Linked DNA regions of Homo sapiens: all the other regions are linked to region 1. The links are contacts of gene promoters, found by promoter capture Hi-C in human tissues and cell types (Jung and others, 2019). All regions are on one chromosome and are shown on one strand. Each heading gives the region's core, a stretch centred on a gene start or on the middle of the fragment in contact. The rest is flanking DNA. Distances are from core to core; before and after follow the strand shown.

Evidence for each region. The method cuts DNA at HindIII sites, captures the fragments that hold promoters and counts their contacts. A contact is called where the count stands out against the background at its distance.
Region 2: a fragment that was not itself captured here is called in contact with the fragment with the promoter of PAIP2 in region 1 in 1 of the 25 tissues and cell types used here (hippocampus).
Region 3: a contact is called between a fragment that was not itself captured here and the fragment with the promoter of PAIP2 in region 1, in 1 of the 25 tissues and cell types used here (heart left ventricle).

What each region holds. Positions count from the first base shown.
Region 1 is chr5:139,340,370-139,343,529 of GRCh38, reverse strand. It overlaps PAIP2 (poly(A) binding protein interacting protein 2), which reads right to left and starts at 1,676. Exons shown (of 4, transcript NM_016480.5): 1 at 1,550-1,676. The HindIII fragment of the contact is 8,924 bases long and covers 1-3,160 here.
Region 2 is chr5:137,931,235-137,934,394 of GRCh38, reverse strand. The region is part of intron 12 of PKD2L2 (polycystin 2 like 2, transient receptor potential cation channel); the gene reads right to left. Among named protein-coding and RNA genes, the nearest start is that of PKD2L2, 43 kb to the right of the region's middle. The HindIII fragment of the contact is 3,022 bases long and covers 1-2,997 here.
Region 3 is chr5:138,221,835-138,224,994 of GRCh38, reverse strand. No RefSeq gene overlaps it. Among named protein-coding and RNA genes, the nearest start is that of CDC23, 10 kb to the right of the region's middle. The HindIII fragment of the contact is 4,119 bases long and covers 1-3,160 here.

The DNA of each region.
Region 1 (3,160 bases), core at 427-2,926:
CTAAAACTGGAGCATCACACTCTAGAGTCATAAAGTGATAAACCTGAATAAAGTGCAGAGTGCTTATTTAAGGAAAAGCCTGCTATAAACTCATTCTGACCAAAAGAGGGTGAAATTACCTACCTCAATTTGAGTTCCTAAGGAGCAACGTGCACAGCCTTGAATCATTAGAGGAAATCTCCATTCCCTAACCTCCATCCCTTAAAGAAACACAAGTGGGTTCTATAGTTCTTGTCAAGTTACCTATCCTGTGATTTTGTGTGTGTGTGAAAAAGTTTTATTCAAGTTCACAACTGACAAGTAGTATAAACAGACTAATTTTCCCCAAATATCCTGTCTTTCACTAACTGGAAACAGAATCACAAAAGCAAATAGTGGAGTCTCATTAAAAATTATTGTAGAGAACTTTTACTTATTGCAAACACAACCTACGCCAGAAGAAATTTCAAAAGCGACTTAATGAAAATATAAACCAACACCTGATCTAACTGTGCTAATGAAATCTGTGAAAAAACAATGCCACCACGTTTCAACATTAGCCAGCACACCCAACATGAACATCTACTTTCCGTTGAAATAAACGTCAAAGGCTGTCAGCTGCTACACCTTCCAAGGCAAATTGGAAGCCAAATTCTTTCTAGAGTTTGGGGTTTTTATGAGTTGATACGGGTGCCAAATCAGGGAAAAAAGAAACAAAAGGAAGCAGGTAAGACCCCTTTTAGGAGTCCCTAAAAAATATCACTGCTGGCTGCTGCAACAAATGTTTTGAAGACCTAAGTTCACCACAAGCCTTATTTATTTCTGGTGGCGATGGTGGGGAAGGAGGAGAGTAAGCACAGAAAATTATTAAAAGGTAAGAGGACCTTAAAGTTCATCTAACTCAACGCCCTCCTAGGGTAAGGGTTCCCAGTACCCCAAAGGTTCTTTTTTCCAGGGCATGAGCTGCAATACAACCAAAAATAAGGGGTAGCGATGGCGAAGAAACGGGAGAAAGACGATCTTCTGATCAGGCCCGTCGACGGTTGCAGCGTTCCCCCAAGACGCCAAGAGCCCGCCAGTCCCTCCGCCCCTCTCTCCCCAAACCCCAGCCTCGGCTGAGGCGCGCACGCGCAGCAAGTAGGGGCTGCGCGTGGCGACGCGCAGGCGTAAAGTGGGTAGAAACAATAAGCTTTGTTGCCGAGGCGGTGGGAGGGGGGCAGGGGAAAGGGTACCCGGCGGAGGGATAAAGGACCGGGAGAATGAGGAACAGGAGAAAGTGCTATCCCGGCAACCCTCGCGCCACTGAGGACCCGGATAGAGAGCTGCGAGATCCAAATCATTAATAATGACAATGAAAAAAAAGCGACGGCCATGTCTCGGAGAAGACAGAGACGAAGTCGGCCCAAGCTCATCCCTCAGACTTGGTGGAAAGAGGCAATGAACAACGGAGGCCGCAATGGACTCGGTGGCCAACCACCCAGGGAACCCTTTAGGCCCCTCTGCCGTCGCCGACTTGCTGTCCCTCGACCTCCGCACCCCTGTCGCCACTCTGCCCGAGAGGACCCCTCACCCAATGCACAGCAGCGGGGACGGCAGCCAACGAATCCTGTCGGCCTCCGCGGATCTCCACAGGCAGCGCCGCTCCCCCGCTCGACGTGCGCTTCGCCCGCCGCCTCCCTTCTCCAGTCCAAACAAACACCCCAGCCCGGAAGTGACTTCACTTCCGTCGCCGCCAACCCCGCCCTCTTGTTCTGTCAGCTCTGCCCTCCGAAGCCACTAGAGAGCGCGCGCGAGAACGCGCGACCCCGAAGTCTGTCTCCAAGGCTGCACACGTGTGCACGCGCAGCAGCCTTTCCAGCGCGCCCCTACGGCCGGCTGCCGGGTGTAGCAGGAACGCTGTCGCACGTTCTCTCTGGAAGGCAGGAATGGGGGCGTACCACTGTTCCCACACCCGCCCATCTTCCGAGAATGATGATATGCAATGAGTGAGGCAGCTGGGGACTGAAGAGCACCCTGACAAGATACACAGGCGTGGACTTTCACAGACATCACACACCCCCCCAAAAACGTAATATTTAGGTAATGACATAGCACACACATACCCATACACACCCCAAGAATGATACACAATGTCACACAAACAGCGACATGCACCGAGTCACGTCAAGATCCTGACACAGAAAAATAATAAACTAAGGGAAATCACAGAGGCGTACTAAATGATATGCAAACATCCGCACTCAGACATGTGCAGGCACAAAAACACACTTTTTGAAGCTGGATGCAAACGCAAAATACAAATACATGTGCAACTTCTTTGTGGCTAAAGGAGGAAATGCCCTGTCCACACAGGATAGAAAAGTGTGACCTCCGGGTTCAAGAATTTTGTAGTCCGTGATCCTGGGTGCACTGGCCCCATAGTTATTCTTACCCATGCTTCCTTCCTGTCATCGTTGACAAGCCCCAAGATATATTTCTAGTGACACTAAGCAATGTAAAGAAGAGAGTATGTTTTTGTTTTTTTGTTTTGTTTTGTTTTTTTGAGGCGGAGTCTGGCTCTCTTGCCCAGGCTGGAGTGCAGTGGCGCCATCTCGGCTCACTGCAACCTCCGCCTCCCGGGTTCAAGAGATTCTCCTGCCACAGCCTCCCAAGTAGCTGGGACTACAGGCGCACGCCAGCACACCCGGCCAATTTTTGTACTTTTAGTAGAGATAGGGGTTTCACCGTGTTGGCCAGGATGGTCTCGATCTCCTGACCTCGTGATCCACCCGCCTCCGCCTCTCAAAGTGCTAGGATTACAGGTGTGAGCCACCGCACCCGGCCGAGAGTATGTGTTTTACAAATCTGGATGTTCAAATGTGTAGATACTATCTTTGAAAAAGGGACACAAACTAATTTCTTCCCTTTGGAGAGGGCAAATGACCGACTAGGAAATGGGTGCAAATAACTATCCTTTTCTCCTGAAAAATTTGAATCTTTTAAAAACTATATGCTTGTAGTATTTACTAAGACAAAAAATTCCCTCCATGGGAAGGCTTGAATTTAGAAACCGGGTTGTTCCTCTTCAGAGCTATTTCATTCACTGAATACTCTTCTGGGCCAGTCCAAAGCCCCAAAGAAATGAATGCAGATGGTTCTGCCCTAGCTCCTGGGTCAACCACCTTGGCAGCACTTACAGATC
Region 2 (3,160 bases), core at 237-2,736, 1.4 Mb after region 1:
TTCTAAATGACCAGGCCAATTATAAAGTGGATGTATTAGTAATAAAAGTAAAATAGACTATGCATAGTAAACTTATTTTAAAAACCCGTCTCAGCCATCACTCTTTTTGTGAAGCCTTCCTTGACACTTAGAGGAAAGTGGTACCTTTCCTCATAAGCTGAGCACCAACTCTTTGGTGACCCTTGCTCCAAGCTCCTACGTCCTGCTCGCCCTACCACCTTCCCTTGTGGTAGCTGCCTCCTGCAGTTAGTTGTCTCTGGATGATCTTCATGTTCATATTGGCCCTTACACTCCTGCAATATCTCAGAAGCAAATTCTGTATACCAAACTCCCTCTTTTTAAATTACCTAAGTGATTTCTGTTTTTCTGACAACTCTTAACTGATGAATAATTGGTAGCAGGGGAGACCCAAAGAAATAGACCCTCATAGATTGCATGCTTCCACCAAGGGGCACAACAATTGACTTAAACTGAATTTGAGACTGCCACTTGACCGTTTGGGATTCCTCATGCCTACAGAACCAGCAGGGAAAGAAGTGGTTATTTATGTGTTGAGGTGATTGATGCGAATTACCAAGGGGAAATTGGATTACTGCCACAAACTAGCACAGAGCAGACTGTGCCCAAGGGATTCTCTGGTATGCCTCTTAATACTTAGATGTCCAAAAGTAAAAGGTAATGGGAAACCACAGCATTCTGTTAAAGGCAGGACCACTGAGAGTTCAGATTCTGAACTAATTAAGGTTATTCCTAATGCAGCTGGCTGAGCTCTTGGCTGTAGGCAAAGGGAATGATACGGAATGGGTAGGAGAAGGAAGTTATAAATACCAACTGTAGCCTTGTAATCTGTTACAGAAACAAAGACTGTAGCCCTATTCCTATTTCCTTCTTTGCTTGTTATGTGTATATTTTCTTTCTCCTTTATCTAAGGAATACTGGTGGTGGCTAACTGTAGTTTAAACATTAGGTTGCAAAGTATTCTTAAGGAATTGTGATTCAACTAGAAGAGGTCATAATATCCACAGATGGATACAATTACTGTTGGGACTTTGCTTCTCCCTTTTTAGGGAGAAGGTGAAAGTACCTTCATTTGTATAAAGGATAGTTTGATCTTACTGGATAGAAGCTTGGAATCATCATTTTATGGAAGTGCAAATGTGTATGCCACAGGAGTGGAATGGACCAACTGTTCAGCTCAAAATTTACCCTCTTATACTCTGTGATGTTGGGTTTTAGGCTTTGTAAGCTTCATTCCCTAAACTGTTAATACCTGGATTCCTGTTAGATTCTGCCAGTATTTGCAGGATAGAGGGGAGAAAGGTCGTGGGTTTTTTTTTTTTTTTTGGTTTGTTTTGTTTTTTGTTCTGTTTCTATTGGCACTGCTTATGCAATGGTAGTTATCTCCAGCAACAGTGGCTCTAGCTGTAGCATCTAGCTGCTTTTGGCATACTCAGAAGCAGCCTCATCACACCCACTCAAGAAGTACAGATTGAGTATCCCTAATCGGAAATCTGAAGTGTTCAAAATCCAAAACTTTAGCACCTCGATGACTCTCAAAGGAAATGCTCACTGGAGCATTTTGGATTTCAAATTTTTGAATTAGGAATGCGGAACCAGTAGGTATATAATGCAGATATTCCAACATCCAAAAAAAATCTGAACTCTAAAACACTTCTGGGTCCCAAGCATTTTGGATAAAGAATACTTAACCTTTATCAGCAGCAGCAGTGAGGTACCTTCTCATCACAGGACTGAGCAACAGCTCCACAAGCCCCTTCTCTAAGATAGTAGGTTCTAGTAACACCACCTTTTGTAATCTTAGCCCTAGGAGTGGTAACCTCTTCCTGCAGTCATTATTTATGAGTTGTCTCAGTGTTATCATTTCACTTTTTTCTGTCTTTTAATACCTGTGTAGTAATCAATTCACTGTAGTATATTTTCTCTATTTGAAATACATATTATGGTTTCTTTCTGAGTGGGCTCTGATTGTTAGATGTAGTACGTTTTCTCATTTGGTCAGGTGTATTTTTGTGTCTTTTTTTTTTTGAGACAGAGTTTCGCTCTTGTTGTCCAGGCTGGAGTGCAGTGGCGTGATCTTGGCTCACTGCAACCTCCACCTCCTGGGTTCAAGCAATTCTCCTGCCTCAGCCTCCCAAGTAGCTGGGATTACAGGTGCACACCACCACGCCTGGCTAATTTTGTATTTTTTAGTAGAGATGGGGTTTCACCATGTTCACCAAACTCCTGACCTCAAGTGATCCACCCGCCTCAAGTGTCCCAAAGTGCTGGGATTACAGGTATGAACCACCATGCCCGGTATTTTTGTGTCTTTAAGGAATGTTTAAAGTTTTTTATCTTGGTTTTGAACATTTTGTTAATTGCTGGGCATTTTCTACTTTGTTGCTGTTACAAATAAGGTCTTCTATTATAATTTTTACCAAACCAATTGATGTTTGCATATATGACATTTATGTAAATTATTTTTCCTACCAGTTTACCTAATTATCTTTTTATTGTAATTTTTCAGATCATCATATACCTAGAAAATTGAAGAGAATCATAAGTAAAGGCAGTTTTACTTTTTTCAATTAGAAATACCTCTAATGTAGTTCTCTTATCTAATTGTTTTGACTTTACCCCTCCAATACATCACTATCTTGTCCCTGACATGTTCAATGTTTTCCTATTAAGTAAGGTGAAGAGGATAAGATCAATGTTTTTATCATATCAAGGAAATATCATTGATTTTTATTTTTCCCCTCAAGATTGGGTGTTGAAACTTATAAAATACCCAGCATTTGTGGAAAATGATCATGCAGTTTTCCTTTTTTAATGCAATGAATTACGTTGATTAGTTGATTACCCAATTTTGAACCATCTTTTCATGCCTAAAATAAATACTATCTGAATCTTCATATATTATTGTGTGCTGTTAGATTCTATCTGCTAATATTTAGGATTTTTGCTTTAAGATGTATACATGAGATTTCCTGTTTTTGGCACAATATATAGTAGTTTCATAAACGTAATTTGGGAGTTTTTCTTTTCTCTTTGCCAGGGCATTTTCTTTTTTCTCTTTGCTAGGGCAAAGAGGAATAGCTTAAATAGCTTGAAACTGTTTGCTCCTTAAAATCTTGTAGAATTTCCTTGTGAAGACCGT
Region 3 (3,160 bases), core at 387-2,886, 1.1 Mb after region 1:
ATGGAGCTAAGGCAGTCAGCTCAGCTGGGGTCCAGGCTGCCCTCCTTCCTCAGCTTCTGGAACAGAGGGATGGCCTGGGTGCAGGGTTATGTGATTGTTCTGGGGAAATGAGCATTCTGGCCTGCTTGATGGGAAGCCTGCTGAGATCAGGCTCAGCCTATTGCCCTGCAGGGGAGCTCCCACTGGATCATCTTCCCCAGACAGACGAAGAGGCCGAGCAACACAGTGATGTCAGCCCCATCAATTCTCCCTCTTTCTAAAGGTTCTCAGCAGTAACCTTGGAGGTGAGGCATCCTTAGGGGAACTTTACTGAGTAATAGGGATAAAGGACACTGGGAAGGGGGGTTACCAAAGCTGGGCTACACAAGGCTGAGAGCCCCCGATGAGCAGAGCTGGCAGTGAGGCCTCCCATTACATCCTAGGGCCATTACCTTGGGGAGATGGAATTGGACAAGCCTGCCTTTCCATTATGCAAAGAAAGGGCTTTTCAAGTAAATTTCCATTTAAGTATGAGCTTAGATCAGTGAAGATGGGGTCATAATAGCTTTGATGGTCATCACAACTATTAAAAATACATTTTTTCCTCGTGCTCAGCCTGCTTTGTCATCTTCATATTGTTCATCCCCAAAAGACTGTAACTCAACCTTTTCCTAGCTTCTAGGAGACAGGTTAATGTCCACAGGTATTTTCAACTCTTTAATTTTTCAACATACATAGTAGATGAAATTTACATGCTTGACACGGCCCATGGATGTATCCAGAATGTGATAAAAAAACAAAAACTAAAAGTCAGTTTGGGAATGGAGGTGGGTGATGGGTTAAGTACAGCACACCGCTCATTGGTCATTGTCTATACTGCTGGGCTCTCTTCTCTTCAGACCATCTGGTGTTGCCTGATTAGGTCCTCAGATACATATAGTTCCCTGCTTAGGTCCTCAGATACATATAGTTCTTAACCTGCTGTCTCTGCTGCCTGAATGCTCTTCCCCTATGCTCTACCGGGCTGACTCTAGGTCTATCTCCAGGTCTTAGCTGGACTAATTTCTTCAAGGAAGCCTCCTCTGATCCACTCCTCTAGCCCTAGACCAGGTTAGGGCCTTGTATTGGTTGTCTATCATTGCATAATAACCCCCAACCATGTATTTGCTCATTTTTCTGCAATTCTGACTGGGTTCAGTCTTGCCTGGGGTCACTTCTGCAGCTGCAGTCAGTTGTCAGGTTGACTGGGTGCTGGCTGTTCCTGCATAGCCTCACTCATCTATCTGAAGCCTCAGCCGGAATGGTGGGAACCACTGGGACAGCTGGAATATCTGGGACAGCTAAGAGGCTAACCTGGTTCCTTCAGGGCAGCAAGAGGGCAAGAGTTAAAGTTGCAAGGTCCCTTGAAACTGAGGCTCAGAAGTCACATAACATCCCTTTCACTGCTTTCTATTGGTTAAAGCAAGTCACAGGGCTAACACAGATTCAAAGGCAGGGACACAGACTCACCGCTTGATGCAAAGTCATATTGTAAAGGGGCACATATCCAGGGATGGAGGACTTATGGCCATCTTTGCCCACAGCCTGGCACAGGCCTCCTATCATAGCTTCTTAAGCTTTTCCTTCACTGCACTTATGGTAACTGTTGTTACATAATTCTTTGTATGATTGTTTATCATCTTTCTCCCCCACTAGAAAAAAATGTCTGAGTGCAGGAATTGACTGTTTCATTCAACAGTCTATTCCCAGAGCTTGGCACATAGTAACAACTAGATAAATTGTAGTTAAATGAATACATGGACAGCACCCACCTCCTTCCTACCCACTGCCACCTCCAACAAATAATTAACCAGCTCAAAATATCAATAATGCCTAAGTCAAGAAACCTTGCTGGGAACTGACTGTTCTTTCAGTTCTCATCGGGCTTAGATTTAGTAAGTTCTTTAGCCTCTCTCTACTTTGGTCTCTGGTGTCTGGTCCCACATCGCTCTTGAGCAAACACCTTTTCCGGTCAAGCCCTTTGAAGAGCGGGGAGGGAGGGAATGGTTCCATCTGTCGGACAAAGCCGGGATCACAGAAGAAAAAGGCAATTGAGTTTTTTCCAGGAAGGACTTTAGGTGAGGATCAGCCTTGACCAGACTACAGCCCCCAAGGAACGCTGGAGAACATTCAGTGGGGCAGCACGCGACTGGATAAAGTTGTTCGCGACGTTGTCATGTGTGACAAACTTGGGAGTGGTATTTAGAAGCTTGAAGTGCTTTCTTTCTTATTCTTTTTTTTTTTTTTTTTTTTTTTTTTGAGACGGAGTCTCGCTCTGTCACCAGGCTAGAGTGCTGTGGTGCGATCTCAGCTCACTGCAACCTCCAACTCCCTGGTTCAAGGGATTCTCCTGCCTCAGCCTCCAGAGTAGCTGGGATTATAGGCATGTGCCACCACGCCCAGCTAATTTTTGTATTTTTAGTGCAGATGGGGTTTCACCATGTTGGCCAGGATGGTCTCGGTTTCCTGATCTCATGATCCACCAGCCTCGGCCTCCCAAAGTGTTGGGATTACAGGCATGAGCCACCACGCCCAGCCCCTTCTTATTCTTTATTATTTTGAGATAGAGTCTCAATCAGTCAGCCAGGCTGGTGTGCAGTGGTGCAATTTCAGCTCACTGCAGCCTTGACCTCTTGGGCTCAAGAGATTCTCCTGCCTCAGCCTTTTGAGTAGCTAGGATTATAGGAGCATGCCACCACACCTGGCTAAGTTTTGTATTTTTTTATAGAGATAGGGTTTTGCCATGTTGTCCAGGCTGGTCATGAACTCTTGAGTTCAAGCAGTCCACCCACCTTGGCCTCCCAAGGTAGGAGTCATGGTGCCTGGCCGACAGTGACTTCTTAATTCTTCATTACATCACTGCCTTTTGATGTATTTATTGTTTTTTATTAAATTTTTTTAATTAAAAAAAATTTTAATCTATTTATTTAGGGACTGGGTTATGAGACTGGCCAATCTTTGTGTTTTTGGTAGAGACAGGGTTTCGCCATGTTGCCCAGGCTGGTCTCAAACTCCTGGGCTCAAGTGATCCACTTGCCTAGACATCCCAAAGTGCTAGGATTACAGGCATGAGCCGTAGTGCCCAGCCTGTATTTATTATTAATAAACCAAAAACAAGGAAGTCACTCTCTCCCTTCTAACT